4 separate regions of the Homo sapiens genome follow, and regions 2, 3 and 4 are each linked to region 1. Evidence: promoter capture Hi-C in 16 types of primary human blood cells and fetal thymus (Javierre and others, 2016). All regions are on one chromosome and are shown on one strand. The core of a region is centred on a gene start or on the middle of the fragment in contact, and the rest is flanking DNA. Distances in the headings are between cores, read along the strand shown.

Region 1 (3,623 bases), core at 365-2,864:
AGAAATTCCATTTTGACCTGTACCTTGAACAATTGCTTTGCCCTGAGATGCTCTTAATCTGTAACTTTGCCCCAACCTCTTTGCTCCAACCTTGACCTCACAAAAACATGTGTTGTATGGAATCAAGGTTTAAGGGGTCTAGGGCTGTGCAGGACATGTCTTGTTAACAAAATGTTTACAAGCAGTATGCTTGGTAAAAGTCATCACCATTCTCTAGTCTCAATAAACAAGGGGCGCAATGCACCATGAAAAGCCACAGGGACCTCTGCCCTGGAAAGCCGGGTATTGTCCAAGGTTTCTCCCCATGTGATAGTCTGAAATACAGCCTCGTGGGAAGAGAAAGACCTTACCGTCCCCCAGCCCGACACCCGTCTGTGCTGAGGTGGATTAGTAAAAGAGGAAAGCCTCTTGCAGTTGAGATAGATGAAGGCCACTGTGTCCTGCCTGCCCCTGGGAACTGAATGTCTCCGTACAAAACCTGATTGTACATTTGTTCAATTCTGAGATAGGAGAAAAACTGCCCTATGGCAGGAGGCAAGACATGTTGGCAGCAATGCTGCCCTGTTATTCTTTATTCCACTGAAATGTTTGGGCAGAGAGAAACATAAATGTGGCCTACGTGCACATCCAGGCATAGTACCTCCACTTGAACTTATGACATAAATTCTTTTGCTCACATGTTTCTTTGCTGACCTCCTTATCACCCTGCTCTCCTACCGCATTCCTCTTGCTGAGATAATGAAAACAATAATCAATAAAAACTGAGGGAACTCAGAGACCGGTGCTGGTGCAAGTCCTTGGTATGCTGAGTGCCGGTCCCCTGGGCCCACTGTGGTTTCTCTATACTTTGTCTCTGTGTCTTATTTCTTTTCTCAGTCTCTCCTCCCACCTGACAAGATATCCCACAGGTGTGGAAGGGCAGGCCACCCCTTCACCCAACAGCTCAGAATGGCTTTTGTGGGATACGGAAGAACCCTCCCTTCTCTTCACCTCACTAGCAAAAGAGAAAGAAGGGCAAACAAAGACCCTCAGAAACCTCAGCAGCTTCCCAGGCAGACGCAGTTAAAAACGACCCGCCCCCAGCGCGCCCCGGCACAGAGCCACCCCGCCCCAGGATGTGACGTGGCATTCGCAGTCCCGCCGCCAGCCTCAGGCCGCCCGCCTCCTTCGTCCCGCCCACCCCGCCCGAGCCTGCCCTGGTCCCTCCCACCCCGCCCTGAATCCATCCCTCTTTAGCCCGACCCCGCCCTGGTCCCCACCCACCCCGCTCCGCCTCCCGCTCAGCCGGCCCGGCCTCCGGCCTCGCACCCCAACCCGCAGAAGGAGCGCCCCCTTGCGGCCCTCGGAATCCCATTGTTCCTGTCCTGGTCCCGCCAGCCCACCGTCGGCGCGCAGTGGTGAGGACGAACTCCTCGGATGCCGCCGTTGAGAAAACGCAACATCAACGCCAACCACTCCTGTACTCAAGCGAAGCCCTGCCTGCAGCGCGAGCACACTGAGGCCTACCTGCCCTACCCCAGACGGAGACTCGCGAGCCCGAACCGGACCATGAGCCGCGCCGAATCGGAGCGCTGCGCCTGCGTTGGCGTCGGGCGTCGCGGCCGCGCAACGTCCGGCACCAGAGGGCTCGCTGCACCTCGGCCGGCCTTCCATGCCACGCCCCCGGGCCAGGCCACGCCCCGGCCCGAGCGACCATCGAGACTCCAGGACCTCCGCGGCGCCTAGAGGGATCCCGAAAACGCCTGCGAGGCCAGAACGGCCGAAATAACCCACCCCAGCGGGCCAGCTCTTCCCGCCACTCTCCCTTACCCTCCCACCCCTGTCCTACTTTGGAAACCTTCCTCGCTCCTTCCTAATCAGGAGAGCATGGGGACTTTCTAGGGTAGTGGTTCTCAAATGTGCCCCCAATCTAACAGCAGCTTCACCTGGGAAATCGATGGAAATGCAAATCTTGGGACCCCACTACAGGCCTTCTGAGTAAGAAACTCTGAGGGTGTGCCCAATAATCGGCCTTACCAACCCTGAAGGTAATTGTGGTACAAACTAGGGCTTGAGAACCACTGCTGTATGGCAGGGTTTCTCAACCTCCACTCTTGACATTTTGGGCCTGGATAATTCTTTGTTGAGAGGGAAGGAGGCTGTCCTGTGCATTATAGGAGGCAGGGTCACGGATAAAATACAGTTAAATTTGAGTTTCAGGTAACAGTGTTGTTCATCTAAGATTCACATTTAACTGGAAGTCCCTGTATTTCATCTGGCTACCTTGCCTACCTATATTTTTACTTGGTAAAAATAGAACCTTAATTGTAGGATATTGAGCATCCCTAGCAACTAAATGCCAGTAGCACACCACACTCTCTCCACTCTAGTTATGACAAATAAAAGTATCTCCCCCTACTTCTTGAGAATCACGGCTCTATAAGGACTTTGTCCAGCTGAAACCCAGTAGCCCATTAGGTATATAGGACAGTGTACTCCGCAGAAAACTGCCTTGCCCTGAAAGGCTTTGAACACAGAAATCCCTGGGACCAAACCGTGTTAACATTCAAAAAGAGGGCCACTTAGTGAAGAGTTTGTATTTGCTTCTCCACACTGACACTTCACAAAGGTTTTTTGGTCACTGTAAAGTGTGTTCCAAAACCCCTGGATCAGAAGAAAAAAATCATGCTCATTTGTGAGATTCTGAAGTGAAGGGCACGTATTAGTTTGTCATTCATTCCACATATGAGCAAATTGAGAAAACAGGCAATAAGCCATGGGAAAATGGGAGTGCTACTCTAGGTAAGGTAGGGTGGTGTTTCTAACTTGCTTTGTTCCCCAGATCCTGTGTCTCATTCATTCATTCAAGTGTTAAATGAGTGTCTTCTCTGTGACAATCACTCCTCTGAGCAGTGATGTTAGAACAGTGAAAAAGAAAAGGCACAAGAGAAAAACCCTCTTGTCATTTCAGTGGGAGAACCAGACAGTAAACAAAATATATGGCATGTCAAAGTGGAAAGTGCTAGGAAGAAAATAAAGGAAGCAAAGGGGACCAATAAGACTGTTGTGAATTCAGTTTTAAATAATTTGGTCAGGGAAGGTTGGTAAGTGAGAAGGTTGTATTTGAGGGAAAAGCCAAAGAATATGAAGAGCAAATTCCCCATGCAGAATTCAAGGGGGAAAATATTTGAAGCAGAGAGAATGGCATGTGCAAATGCTCTGAGGCGAAGCAAGCCTAGCACATTTGAGAATGGCTGGAGACAAAAGAAAGTCAAAGAAATGAGGTCAAAGAGGGGGTGAGTTCAACAAGGAGTAATAAGGTGCTTGCTGGCTGTTTCTTCCATACCTTTATGATCCAGAGAGAATTCTCACTGCAATTTGGATACTTGCATATGTAATTTAAAGTTAATAAAAAGATCGGGACCAAGTGTAAGTGTTTATGGAGCTGCAAAGAGTCCATCTAGACATTTTCAGTGCATTGCTTTGAATAAAGCTACGTTTAAAAACAAAGTCAAATCTTTGAAAACAATGTCAAATTTGGGGTAGAATGGCAGAAGAACTGCATGATAGGAATTGGGAAAAAAAAAAAAATTTAGCCCGTTAAGCTAGAATCCTTTGAGGAAAATACATATTTTGAAGTTCTT
Region 2 (3,623 bases), core at 712-3,211, 210 kb after region 1:
AAAAGCTCTTCAAGATGTACTTTTAAGGGGAAAAAAACAAGATGTAGAGCATTTGATATAAAATGCTGCCAATGGAAAGAAAAGATGCATTTGGATATGTTTGTAAGTAACAGACCATTTCTGGAAAGGTAAACAAGAAAGGAATAACTATGGTTGCTAAACAGGAGTTGTGTTGGGGGCTGAAGAGGGTAGGATAATATACGTCATAGGCATATATTATTTATTTTTACAGTTACACAATTAAAAACAAATGTAAGTAAATTTTTAAAATGGGACAATATATGAAAAAAAGTTTTAAAATTTGTTTTTGCTCCCGAAAAAAAAGGCTTGTTACAGAAAATATTATATTCAAACAAACTTCACTACTAATCATAACCACTAAGCAATCTCTGATCAGCAGAGCAAAGGAGGGCACTTTTGAGGAAACAAGTGGTCACCTGGTTAAGTATGAGATTAAGTATCACTTTCTCCCACTCCCCTCAAAGTTGCCCACATGCCTCCCTCTGCCCCTCCAGTGCCTGGCTGGGGCCCTGATGTCCCAAGGCAATGGCATGTGAACTTGAAGAAAATTATTAGAGTGTGTGCCACATGCAGACTGATAGGTCTTCCTGCCCTCTCAACCAAATGCACAAACACTCTTAAGCCCAATATTCCAGTAAATGGTTTTTTTTTTTTTTTTTAAAAAGTTCTGGACTTTGATTTCTGTTAAAATGCAGAGCATACCAGGCAAGTTAATAGCACTGTTCTTAGCTATTCATAGTGAGAGGAACGACGATTTTCCCATCCTTTTTTTTTTTTTAAATGAGCTTTGATTGAGAAAAATCAGTGGGGCTGGGTTTGGGCTCTAGAGGAGATAAGATAGGATAGAGTGGAGAAGACAGAGGATGGGGAAAGGAGAAGAGAACTTGAAGATTGGAAGCTCCAAGATAAACTTCCACATTTTACCTAAGGCCTGTCCTCAAAATAAATAAAACAAGACTTTCTGTAATGTTTTATTAGGTGTGGAAAGCAGAAGAGAAGAAAATATATCAAGAAAAAACTAATTTTATGTAAAATTATGCTGAACTCTTTTATCTTATCAAAAATCCTAAGTTGGCTCATAATGAATTCTTACTAAGTGGTAACTATTTTTACTGTGATGCTGGTCCACCAGTATGGGGCAGGGGGAAAGGACAGGTGGGTGGTGAGTCTATTTTCAGTCTGCCCTTCTCTTTCTCATCAAAGGAAAGATGAGAACTTTGAGAGGCTGAGGGAACCAGGAAAGGTGCAAGGAGGTGGCCAGGAATAGTCAATGCTCCTGGCCGTGAATCAGTACACCACCCAGGTGACGTGGGAGCAGGAACAGTCAGTGCTCCTGGCCGTGAATTAGTACACCACCCAGGTGACGTGGGAGGCTGGCTTGGGAGGTGATGCAGGATGCCCTGGCAGCAATGGGAGAAATGTTAAAATGATTATGTGGCACTAACTGAATGACTCCTCCCGATAAGCAGACCCAGAACATCTTACTTCTGTGAACAACCAGGGAGAGTTAGAGGCTGCTCACACAGTACCCTATAACCTTCAGGGAAATCGGGGAAGTAGAACTACTTGGATGAGGGCTCATGATTCACGTTTCACTGGTGAACATTTTCTCTCCCCACAATTCTCCCAACATGAAGTGGTCTCTGGAGAAAGACAGACAAACATTAAAGCTCTCTTTAATGAGAGCTTATTACATGCCAGGCATTGTGTCAGCCCTTTACTAGCTCACATGTTCCTTACAACTATAATAGGCAGGAACCAATATTCTTAGTACTCTAATAAGGATACCTAAGAACAGATAAGCTCAGCTGCTTTCCTGAGGCCAGGCAGTCAGTTAAGTGGTTGATCAGAAGGCAACACTCAGGACTGTGTCCCCAGCACTGTTCTGTAGACTGTAAGCATTATGAGGGCAGGAGCCGTGTCTGCTCTTTCCTTATGCCGTGCTGATGAGTACACTGCCCAACAAAGAAAGGTGATTGGAGGTCTGCAGAATGCAAAGGGGAATGTGGCTGGGAACGCGAGAATGAAGGCAGAAATGCCGGAATAAAGGCTGGACTGGGGTAGAGAAAGCAGGTGGGGATTCAGAAATGCGGGTGGGAATCAGAGCAGGGATGTGGGAATGCGGAAACGCAGGTGGGAACGATGGGGAGAAAGTGGCAACGTTGGGGGATGCAGTTGGGAATGCAGGAATGAGGGTGGAAATGTGGGAATGCAGGCTGGAAGAGTGGAGAGTACAGGAATGCAGGAGGGAATTCACGAATGCAGCAGGAACCTGGGAATGCGGGAATGCAGAGAGCGACGCTGCGGGAAATGCGGGAGGACCCCAAGCCATCCGCTCACCTGTGAAGAAGGGCATGAAAGTAAGGCTGCAGGCCAAGAGGAGCCTGCCCGCCACCGAGGGACGCGTGGCTGAGGCTGCGGCCGGCCCCGTCGCTCCGTCTGGAAGAGAGGAGCCAGTGAGCTCAGTTCCGCGAAAGGGACACGCCCAGGCGGCCGGGCCCGCGCTCCCGCGCCACGCGAATGGCCTTTCCGCTGCTGGGCGAGCGCCCCTCACAGCGCCCCCGGATGCTGGGTGGGCCGCGCTGTGAGCTCGGCCTCTGGAGGCACCTGGGACTCGGAAACACTGCCTAGCCTAGAGACTTGTAGGCCCGAGAGAGCCTCTGGCCTGTCCGCTCCTTTCCACAGCGCGCTGTGGGCCCGCGGGAGCAGCTGGACCGGCAGCTGCGTCCTGAGGTGGGCGGGGTGGCTTGGTGAACCCGTACCTGACGCCGGGCGGTCCGGGACAGGCGGGTTGGCCGGGCTAGGCCGGAGGGCACTGCGCATGCGTCGGCCTCCACAGTCCCTTTGGCCTGCCCCATTGGTCCTCACTTCCCGCTCTTCCCGCCCTCTGGGAGCCTTGGCCAATGAGATCCTGGTGGCTCCCGGCTCACGTGACTGGAGAAAGCCTGGTGGGCTAGTTCCACAGTTCTGACGATTGGAAGAACTTGGAGGAGCTGGAATGTCTGTTTTTCCGATTCTTTGGTTCTCACCCCACCCAATTAAAGATATGCTATTGTGCCTCACCCTCTTCCCTACCTAGTCTAAGCATTTTTGAGGAAAGGGTACCTATATACTTAATTCTCTGACGGGAACATTCTACCCTACCAATACCCTCCAAGTCATCAATGCATCTAGTGCAATTCTGGCACCTCAGAATATTTTCTAACATACTCACACCTCCTTGAGACTGAACACTTTGAAAGGACAGGGACTGTGTATGTATGCATGATCCACATACTTCCAGCCTTTAGCACTGTACCTGGGACATAAATGCATTGTTAGTGTGTGTTGAATGAATGAAGGGTCCCTTCTACCTATGAGCTCAAGAGTGTTAGAATTCTTCCTGTTACCCAACTGCTGTTTTGATGGCTTACTTTCTGGCAGCTGCAGAAGCTCTAATTCTTTTTGGAAGCAACCTAAATATCCATCAAGGGATAAATGGATAAAGAAAATGTGATATCTACCTAAGATGAAATATTACTCAGCCTTAAAAAAGGCCTTTTCTGCATCTATTGAGATAATCATGTGGTTTTTGTCATTGGTTCTGTTTATGTGATGGATTG
Region 3 (3,623 bases), core at 629-3,128, 190 kb after region 1:
GAAGACAGCCTCTACCATCCTAGAGTCAGGAATAAAACTCAAACTCATCTTCCCTGTTGGGAGCGAGCTCCAACTCCATAGAGGAATTACCTGCCTTCCATCATCATGGAAGCAAGAAATCTTGCCTTCCTTGTTGGAAGCAAGTAAAACTTCAAAAAATGGAGTTGTACGGCAAAATAAACTTCAGATCTTAACCAAATTTTGGGAGATCAGGTATTCTCTGTGAAGCAGTATTGTTTGTCTGGGGTAATACCTGAGGTTTGTTGCCTGACACCAAGGAAATCAAGGACACAAACACACCAGAGTGAAGTTAAGTGTGGAAGTTTAATAGGCTAGAGAAAGAAAAAAAACTCTCTCTCCAGAGAGAGAAGGGGTTCCAAGTGGGTCTTCTGGTTTCGTGATGAAATGCATGTGGTTTTATGGATTAGCTTGAGGAGGCATAGTGTGATTTACACAGGAGACGAGAGATTGGGAGGAGCAGGTGTGCCATTTACATAGCACACAAAGAAGCTGGCAGCCCCATCCTAATCTTTTATTATGCAGATGGGTCCCCTACCTGGCTGGCACCATGTTGTCTGTTCCTTTACTGTACATGTGATTGAAAGAGAAAAGGGAAGATGGAGCCTCCATGTTGAACATGCCTGGCCCCCAGGTAGCCTTTTCCTATTGGCACAACTGCCAGCACTCACCCATGCAAGCTTCTAGCTTGCTTTTCCATGTCTGCAGCTTGATTTTTCAGGCTGCTCTTTGTTAGAAAAGAAATGATTTGGGGTCTGCTTTTTATTAAAAGCAAAACCTTGCTAAGGACTCTCTTACCCTCATTAACTGCCTAAATAATTTCTTTCTAGCTCCTGTATCATCTGGAGGGGGTGCTCCCAGACCTCAGCAAATTGTCCTATTGGTTTGAGCCATAAAGTTAGCTCATGCGGGTACCAAGCACCAATAGGAGATTTTTCAAAGGTCAAGGGGCATCTCCATTCAGAATCCCTCCACAGTTAACAAAATGTGAATCCTGTATATCTGAGATAGGTCTCAGTTAATTTAAAAAGTTCATTTTGCCAAGGTTGAGGATGCACACAAAGGACATAGCCTCAGGTTGTCCTGAGGACATGTGCCCAAGGCGCTCAGAGCGCAGTTTGGTTTTATACATTTTAGGGAGACATGAGACATCAATCAACATATGTAAGATGAACATTGGTTCAGTCTGGAAAGACAGGACAACTCGAAGCAAAGGCAGGACAACTCGAAGCAGGGAGGGAACTCCCAGGTCATAGGTAGATAAGAGACAAATGGTTACATTCTTTTGAGTTTCTGACTAGCCCCTCCAAAGACCAAATGCAATCAGATATGCATTTATCTCAGTGAGCAGAGGGGTGACTGAATAGAATAGGAGGCAGGTTTGCCCTAAGCAGTTCCCAGCTTGACTTTTCCCTTTAGCTTAGTGATTTTGGGGCCCCAAGATTTATTTTCCTTTCACAAAGTCTCCAACTATTATTACATTAGGGGTCTATCTCTCCCTTTAGATCTAATTGTATTTGCTTTACATTGGTGCTCCAGTGTTGGGTGCATATATATTTATAATTGTTATACCTTCTTGCTAAATTTATTTCTTCATCATTATTTAATGATTTTCTTTGTCTATTTTTATGTTTTTTGACTTAAAGTCTATTTTGTCTGACATAAATAGAGCTATTCTTGGATGCTTTTGATTTCCATTTGCATGGAATATTATTTTCCATCCCTTTACTGTCAGTCTTCATCCCATTGGTGGCATTCATGGGTGCTGGTGTTGGTGGTAGCAGGCTCTGGGCAGGCCATTCCTTTAGCCCTTGGGCAGTATGTGCAGGTGTGAGATGACACTACCACTAGAGTGGATGTGTCCTGCAGCAGAAGCAGCAAAAGCCCAGGCAGGTGGCTTTCAGGGTCTGGGGAGCACACACACCAGTCTTCTGGCTCCACAGGGTATAAGGGGCTGCATGGGCTCAGGTGCCAGGGTCACAGCTGCACAGCTATAACAGATCTCAGTTGTGTCTTTATGCAGCAACACTCTGGGTACCTGTGGTGGGATGTGGATGAGACCCCAGGGATGGATGTGGAGATGAAGGAGCAATTGGGCCCCTGGACAGTATGTACTCTGGTGATGGCTCCACTCCCAAAATGGTGCCATGCTGCAGCCCTGGGTCCTGGGACATTGGGGGAATCCAGCATAAATTCTCTCTCTGGAGTAGTAAAGTCATGTGGACTCTAGGCAGTACCCTATACTAGACTAAGGGACTGTGAGGGCTGAGGGCTCTCCTGTAGCTATGACTGCAGGTGTCTGGTGGAAATATAGACTTCTGGGGACCTCCTGCTAACCTTTTCTCCGCAATGGGGAGGGAGTCCCTCCTGGCTCCAAGCACATCTCGGTAGGCTGCATTGCTTACCTCTCTATGCTGTCATCCTGAGTTTTTGTGCCTCAAAGTTTCTTTTCTTTGAATTTGAACACTATCTGCTGAATTCCAGTGTTCTTCCTTAGACATTCTAGTCAATGTGTGTTTATCAATTTGTTACTTTGGTCCTTCTTTGTGGAGAAGGTGAGTGCTAGGCATCTCTAGCCATTTGATCTCTCTGTCTTCTTTTGAGCTACTGACTCTTAAAAAACCTTTTTATTGTGGCAAAATATACATAGCATAAAATTTGCCATTGAAACCATTTTCAAGTGTATAACTTAGTGTCATTAAGTACATTCACCACGTTGTGTAACCACCTCTACTATTCATCTCTGAAACATTTTCACAATCTCAAACACAAACTCTACACATTAAATAATTGTGCTTATGCTTAATTTTCACTCAACTATGTACATTTTTGATTCCCTATTTATATCTCCCTATTTTATCTTTATAAGATACAAAGATATAAATGAAGAGCAGCATGAAATTGCATCAACATTCAAGTTTGTTGTGTTCTTTTTCCAGCTTTTCTTCTACTGCCCTATATAATTATCATTCTCTTTAAAATACATACGCTATTGCAACTGGATTCATTTTTAGAAACTGGTTTTCAAACAAAAGCTTAAAATCTCCATAACCGGCTGTGGATATTGCTGCCGTTGCTGGTTTTGAAACTACATTTTCTCGTAACCTCTTGTGAAATTTCTTCAGGACACTAGGCAGATGAAGCAAGCTTAACTCTGTCAGTAGGATGAAATATGTAGTTTTAAACTTCCCTAATTGTTTTAAACTTTTTTAAACATTCCTAAATAAAATAAACTTCCCTAAATAAGAGAAAACTTCCCTAAATAAGATTGTTTTAAACTTCCCTAAATAAGATAAAAACCACCCACCACAAAACTCAGTGTACAATGTGACCTAAACTAATAATTCTCATGTTTTTGCCTCTCATCATGTGGGGACTACAGGTCTTCATGAACACTGGCACTTCTGAGTACAAAGAATAGAATCAGCAAAGGAGAGTTATCTGGACCTCAGTTTCATCTAATTGTTGTTGTATTATTTTAAGGTGTTGCTTTTCTTAAATAGCTTAAAAAGGGAAAAGATTGTGTTTAGCCATTAAAAGTAAAAAGGAAAGGTAACAAAAGACTGTTAACGTTTCCAAAGAAAATATACAAATGGCCAGAAATC
Region 4 (3,623 bases), core at 664-3,163, 170 kb after region 1:
AATCAGGGGATTTAGAGTCCCTAAGATACAGTGACAAACTCCCCCAGACATGAGCACAGGCCCCACCCAACTATGTGTGATTTGGAGTCAACCCAGTATTATTACCTACAATGATGGTACCAGCTGTGATGGTAGTAGAAGTCAATACTCCCTTTGAGTAACGGGCTTTGGCCATATTTTATTCCCATGACAACCCATAGAGGTAGGTATTACATGTCCCTGTTGTTCAGATGAGCAAACTAAGCCTGGCAGAGGCCAGTGCCTTGTCCAAGGTCACACAGCTAGTGAGGTAGGTCCTGGGATTTCATACATTTCTCCCTGACCCAGTGCCTAGCCCAAGGTCACACAGCCGAGGAGGTAGGTCCTGAGATTTCATGCAATTCTCCCTGATCACAGAACCCCAGGGAAAGACCTGAGTGAGTGGTTGCAGCTCTGTGCTGGCAGCTGAGTGCCCTGGGTGAGTCTGCTTCCTTCTGTCTCTAGTTCCTTATAGAATCTGTGAAATGGTGATTTCGGGATCCCTCAGGTTCCTCTCAGCTTCTGTTCCTTTAGAACCTTTTAGCCACAGTGGGGACTTGGGCTTGGATATCATCCCCTATGGGCTTCAAGGTGGGCAGGAAGGGACAATACAAAATTTGAGAACTCGTCTTCAAGTGAACACAGTGGCCTAGGGGCCTAGAGACAGCCATACTTCTTCCTCAATGGAGGAACAGAGTTGGGGTTTGGAGAGATTTATTCTGAGCCAAATATGAATGACCATGGCCCATGACACAGCCCTCAGGAGGTCCTGAGAAAATGTGCCCAAGGTGGTTAGGGCACAGCATGATTTTACATATTTACGGGAGACATGAGACATCAATCAAATACATTTAAGAGGTACCTTGGTTTGGTTCAGAAAGGCAGGACAACTTAAAATGGGGGCTTCCAGGCTACAGGTAAATTTAAACATTTTCTGGTTGACAATTTGTTGAGTTTGTCTAGAGACGTGGGATCAATAGAAAGGAATGTCTGGGTTAAGATAAAGGATTGTGGAGACCCAAGTTCCTATTTGCAGAGGAAACCTTCAGGTGGTAGGCTTCGGAGAGGATAGGTTGTAAACTGTTTCCTATCAGACTTAAAGTCTGTGTCCATGTTAATGCTGGAGAGGTATAATGAGACATGTCCAACCCCCTAAAACAGTCATAGCCTAAAACAGTCTCTTAGGTTAAATTTTAAAAGAGCCCTGGCTGACGAGAAGTCCATTCAGATGGTTGGGAGGCCTTAGAATTTTATTTTTGGTTTACAAGGTACTTGTGCACCCCAGTATATTCAATCTTGTGTTGGCTAAGAGTGGACTCCCAGCTGTCTTTCTTCCTGCCTCCAAGTCTTCGTCTCACTATTTGTCTTTTTTCTTTTGGAATTCAGTGCCTCATTTGTGTTCTCCAACCCCATCTCACCTGCTTTCACTTTTTCTTCCCCTGTGACCATAATATAGCACTAAAGTTTATCTTTTTTATTTCTTACATTGAATAGTTTATATATTTTTCTGTATAAGCTAAAGTAGTCACTTTTTACCTGGATGGTTCTAGCTTTTATTTGTTTGCTTGCTTATTCATTCATTTTCCTCCTGAAGGTCAGAGACGTTCTTGGCCAAAAGAATTTTCCACGCTCCATTTCCGCCCCTTTTGGGGCCTGAGCACTCCAGAGAGCTTGGGAACGGCCCAGGCTGAGTTGCAGATGGTGTGTGCGCTTTGCCTTAGGGCTCACCTTCTGGTGTGTCCTTCCAGGGGTTGCTCATCGACACTTTGGTGGGGGCACACTCCCACCACTGGAAGAGCCCTGGGGTACTTGGGCCTCTCCTGGGCCTGTCTGTTGTCCAGATCACTCCAGCTGGTCATCTCAGCTTTATAAACAGCAACCAATTAAGAGCGGCCCACCTGAGTAGTAGTCTACTGTAGATACCCTTATGCAATTTCGCTTTTTCTCACTTCATAGTATATTCTGGAAATCTGTTGCTTCTGTTCATGGGGTCTGCCATTCTTCCGCAGTGCGTCACCGGAGTCCACAGTGTGGCTTTTCAACTGCTCTGTGCTGTATGGGCTTTCAGTTTGCTCCAATATTTTGCAATCACAATGTTTCAATGAATACCCTTGAGCATTTGTATTTTTCTATTGCTGAATTTTATAGGTAGATAGCCATGAGTGGGGCAGGAGAGCGTTCTCCCTCACCCACTAGAAACGTCAGGTGCTGGTTCAACAATTATCAAACTGCCTGTCTAAAAATGATAATTCCGGAGCCATGGAGAGGAAGATCTCCTCATGATCCACAGCTGTTAAACATTGAAGTGTTCATTGAATGAAGACCCCAGGGAAGAGAAACTTCCTGGACATGCACATTAAGAAGACAAAAATGTCAAGCATGACATTACTGGTACACGCCACTGGAAAAAGAAAGCAAGCCTGAGATGGGCATGCGTATTACTCCCTAAACACACTGCGCATGCTCAGTTTCAAAGGGCAAGGAGACCACTGGGCATGCGGAAAGCCCGCCCTAAGGGAAGAATCATGGGAAAGAGGCGAGTCTATAGAGTTCTAGGATTAAGGTTAAAGGCCTCCTTTTTTCTCTCTTGGACCTTCAGGCGCCCCCTTGGGTCTCTTCCAAGCAAATTTTCGTTTCTTTCCTTTTCCAAAGCCTTTTAAAATAAACTTCCACTCCTGCTCTGAAACTTGCCTCGGTCTCTTTTCCTGCTTTATGCACCTCAGTCGAATTCTTTCTCCTGAGGAAGCAAGAGCTGAAGTTCCTGTGGGCTCCTGTGGATGCCGCGGAAAACTCAGGGTATCTCAGATCTCTGCTGCCACTAACACTGAAGGTATGTCTTCAGAGCAGATTCCTAGAAGTTGGATTGCTGGGTCATTAATGCACAGGTAGTTTTGTTAGGTTTGCCAAATTCCCCTACGGAAAGATTGTGCTGACCTGTGCATTCCTAACAGCAGTTATGCCAAAGAATGTTCCATTTTCCATTTTAATGTTTGCCAGTCAGACAGCTGGGAAATAAGATTTCAAGGTTGTTTTAATTTGCATTTCTTTAATTATGGAGTTTGAACATTTTTCATGTATTTGAAGTCCATTAAGATTTTATATATAATTTATCTGTGTATGTCTTTTACCTACTTTTCTGTTGGATTTATTTTATTTATTTTTCTATTGGACTTCAGTTTTTTTGTCCCTCATTTAAAAAAAAATTTTAATTTAATAGGCATAGAAACAACATTATACTGATAATATGACCAGAAAGTTCTCTCACTTGTTTTTTTTTTTTTTTTTTTGAGAGAGAGTTTCGCTCTTATTGCCCAGGCTGGAGTGCAATGGCACGATCTCGGCTCACAGCAACCTCAGCCTCCTAGGTTCAAGCCATTCTCCTGCCTCAGCCTCCCGAGTAGCTGGGATTACAGGCATGCACCACCACACTTGGCTAATTTTGTATTTTTAGTAGAGACGCGGTTTCTTCATGTTGGTCAGGCTGGTCTCGAACTCCGGACCTCAGGTGATCTGCCTGCCTCGGCCTCCTAAAGTGCTGGGATTACAGGCGTGAGCCACCGCGCCTGGCTGTCACTTGTTTTTTATTTTTATTTTTGCTGGTATTT

The links. The method cuts DNA at HindIII sites, captures the fragments that hold promoters and counts their contacts. A CHiCAGO score of 5 or more calls a contact.
Region 2: a fragment that was not itself captured here is called in contact with the fragment with the promoter of PGBD2 in region 1 in 9 of 17 cell types (total B cells, naive B cells, neutrophils and 6 more); the score reaches 13.1 in total B cells.
Region 3: a contact is called between a fragment that was not itself captured here and the fragment with the promoter of PGBD2 in region 1, in 6 of 17 cell types (monocytes, M2 macrophages, total B cells and 3 more). The highest score is 7.2, in monocytes.
Region 4: a contact is called between a fragment that was not itself captured here and the fragment with the promoter of PGBD2 in region 1, in 1 of 17 cell types (neutrophils). The highest score is 6.7, in neutrophils.

The regions. Positions count from the first base shown.
Region 1 is chr1:248,904,226-248,907,848 of GRCh38, reverse strand. PGBD2 (piggyBac transposable element derived 2) reads right to left here and starts at 1,614. Exons shown (of 3, transcript NM_170725.3): 1 at 1,507-1,614. RefSeq lists silencers at 1,169-1,258, 1,669-1,728 and enhancers at 1,349-1,538, 1,063-1,984. The HindIII fragment of the contact is 4,441 bases long and covers 1-3,623 here.
Region 2 is chr1:248,690,957-248,694,579 of GRCh38, reverse strand. All of the region lies in intron 3 of OR14I1 (olfactory receptor family 14 subfamily I member 1), which reads left to right. Among named protein-coding and RNA genes, the nearest start is that of OR14I1, 10 kb to the left of the region's middle. The HindIII fragment of the contact is 9,246 bases long and covers 1-3,623 here.
Region 3 is chr1:248,710,240-248,713,862 of GRCh38, reverse strand. No RefSeq gene overlaps it. Among named protein-coding and RNA genes, the nearest start is that of OR14I1, 9.3 kb to the right of the region's middle. The HindIII fragment of the contact is 2,355 bases long and covers 701-3,055 here.
Region 4 is chr1:248,730,030-248,733,652 of GRCh38, reverse strand. No RefSeq gene overlaps it. Among named protein-coding and RNA genes, the nearest start is that of LYPD8, 24 kb to the left of the region's middle. The HindIII fragment of the contact is 4,902 bases long and covers 1-3,623 here.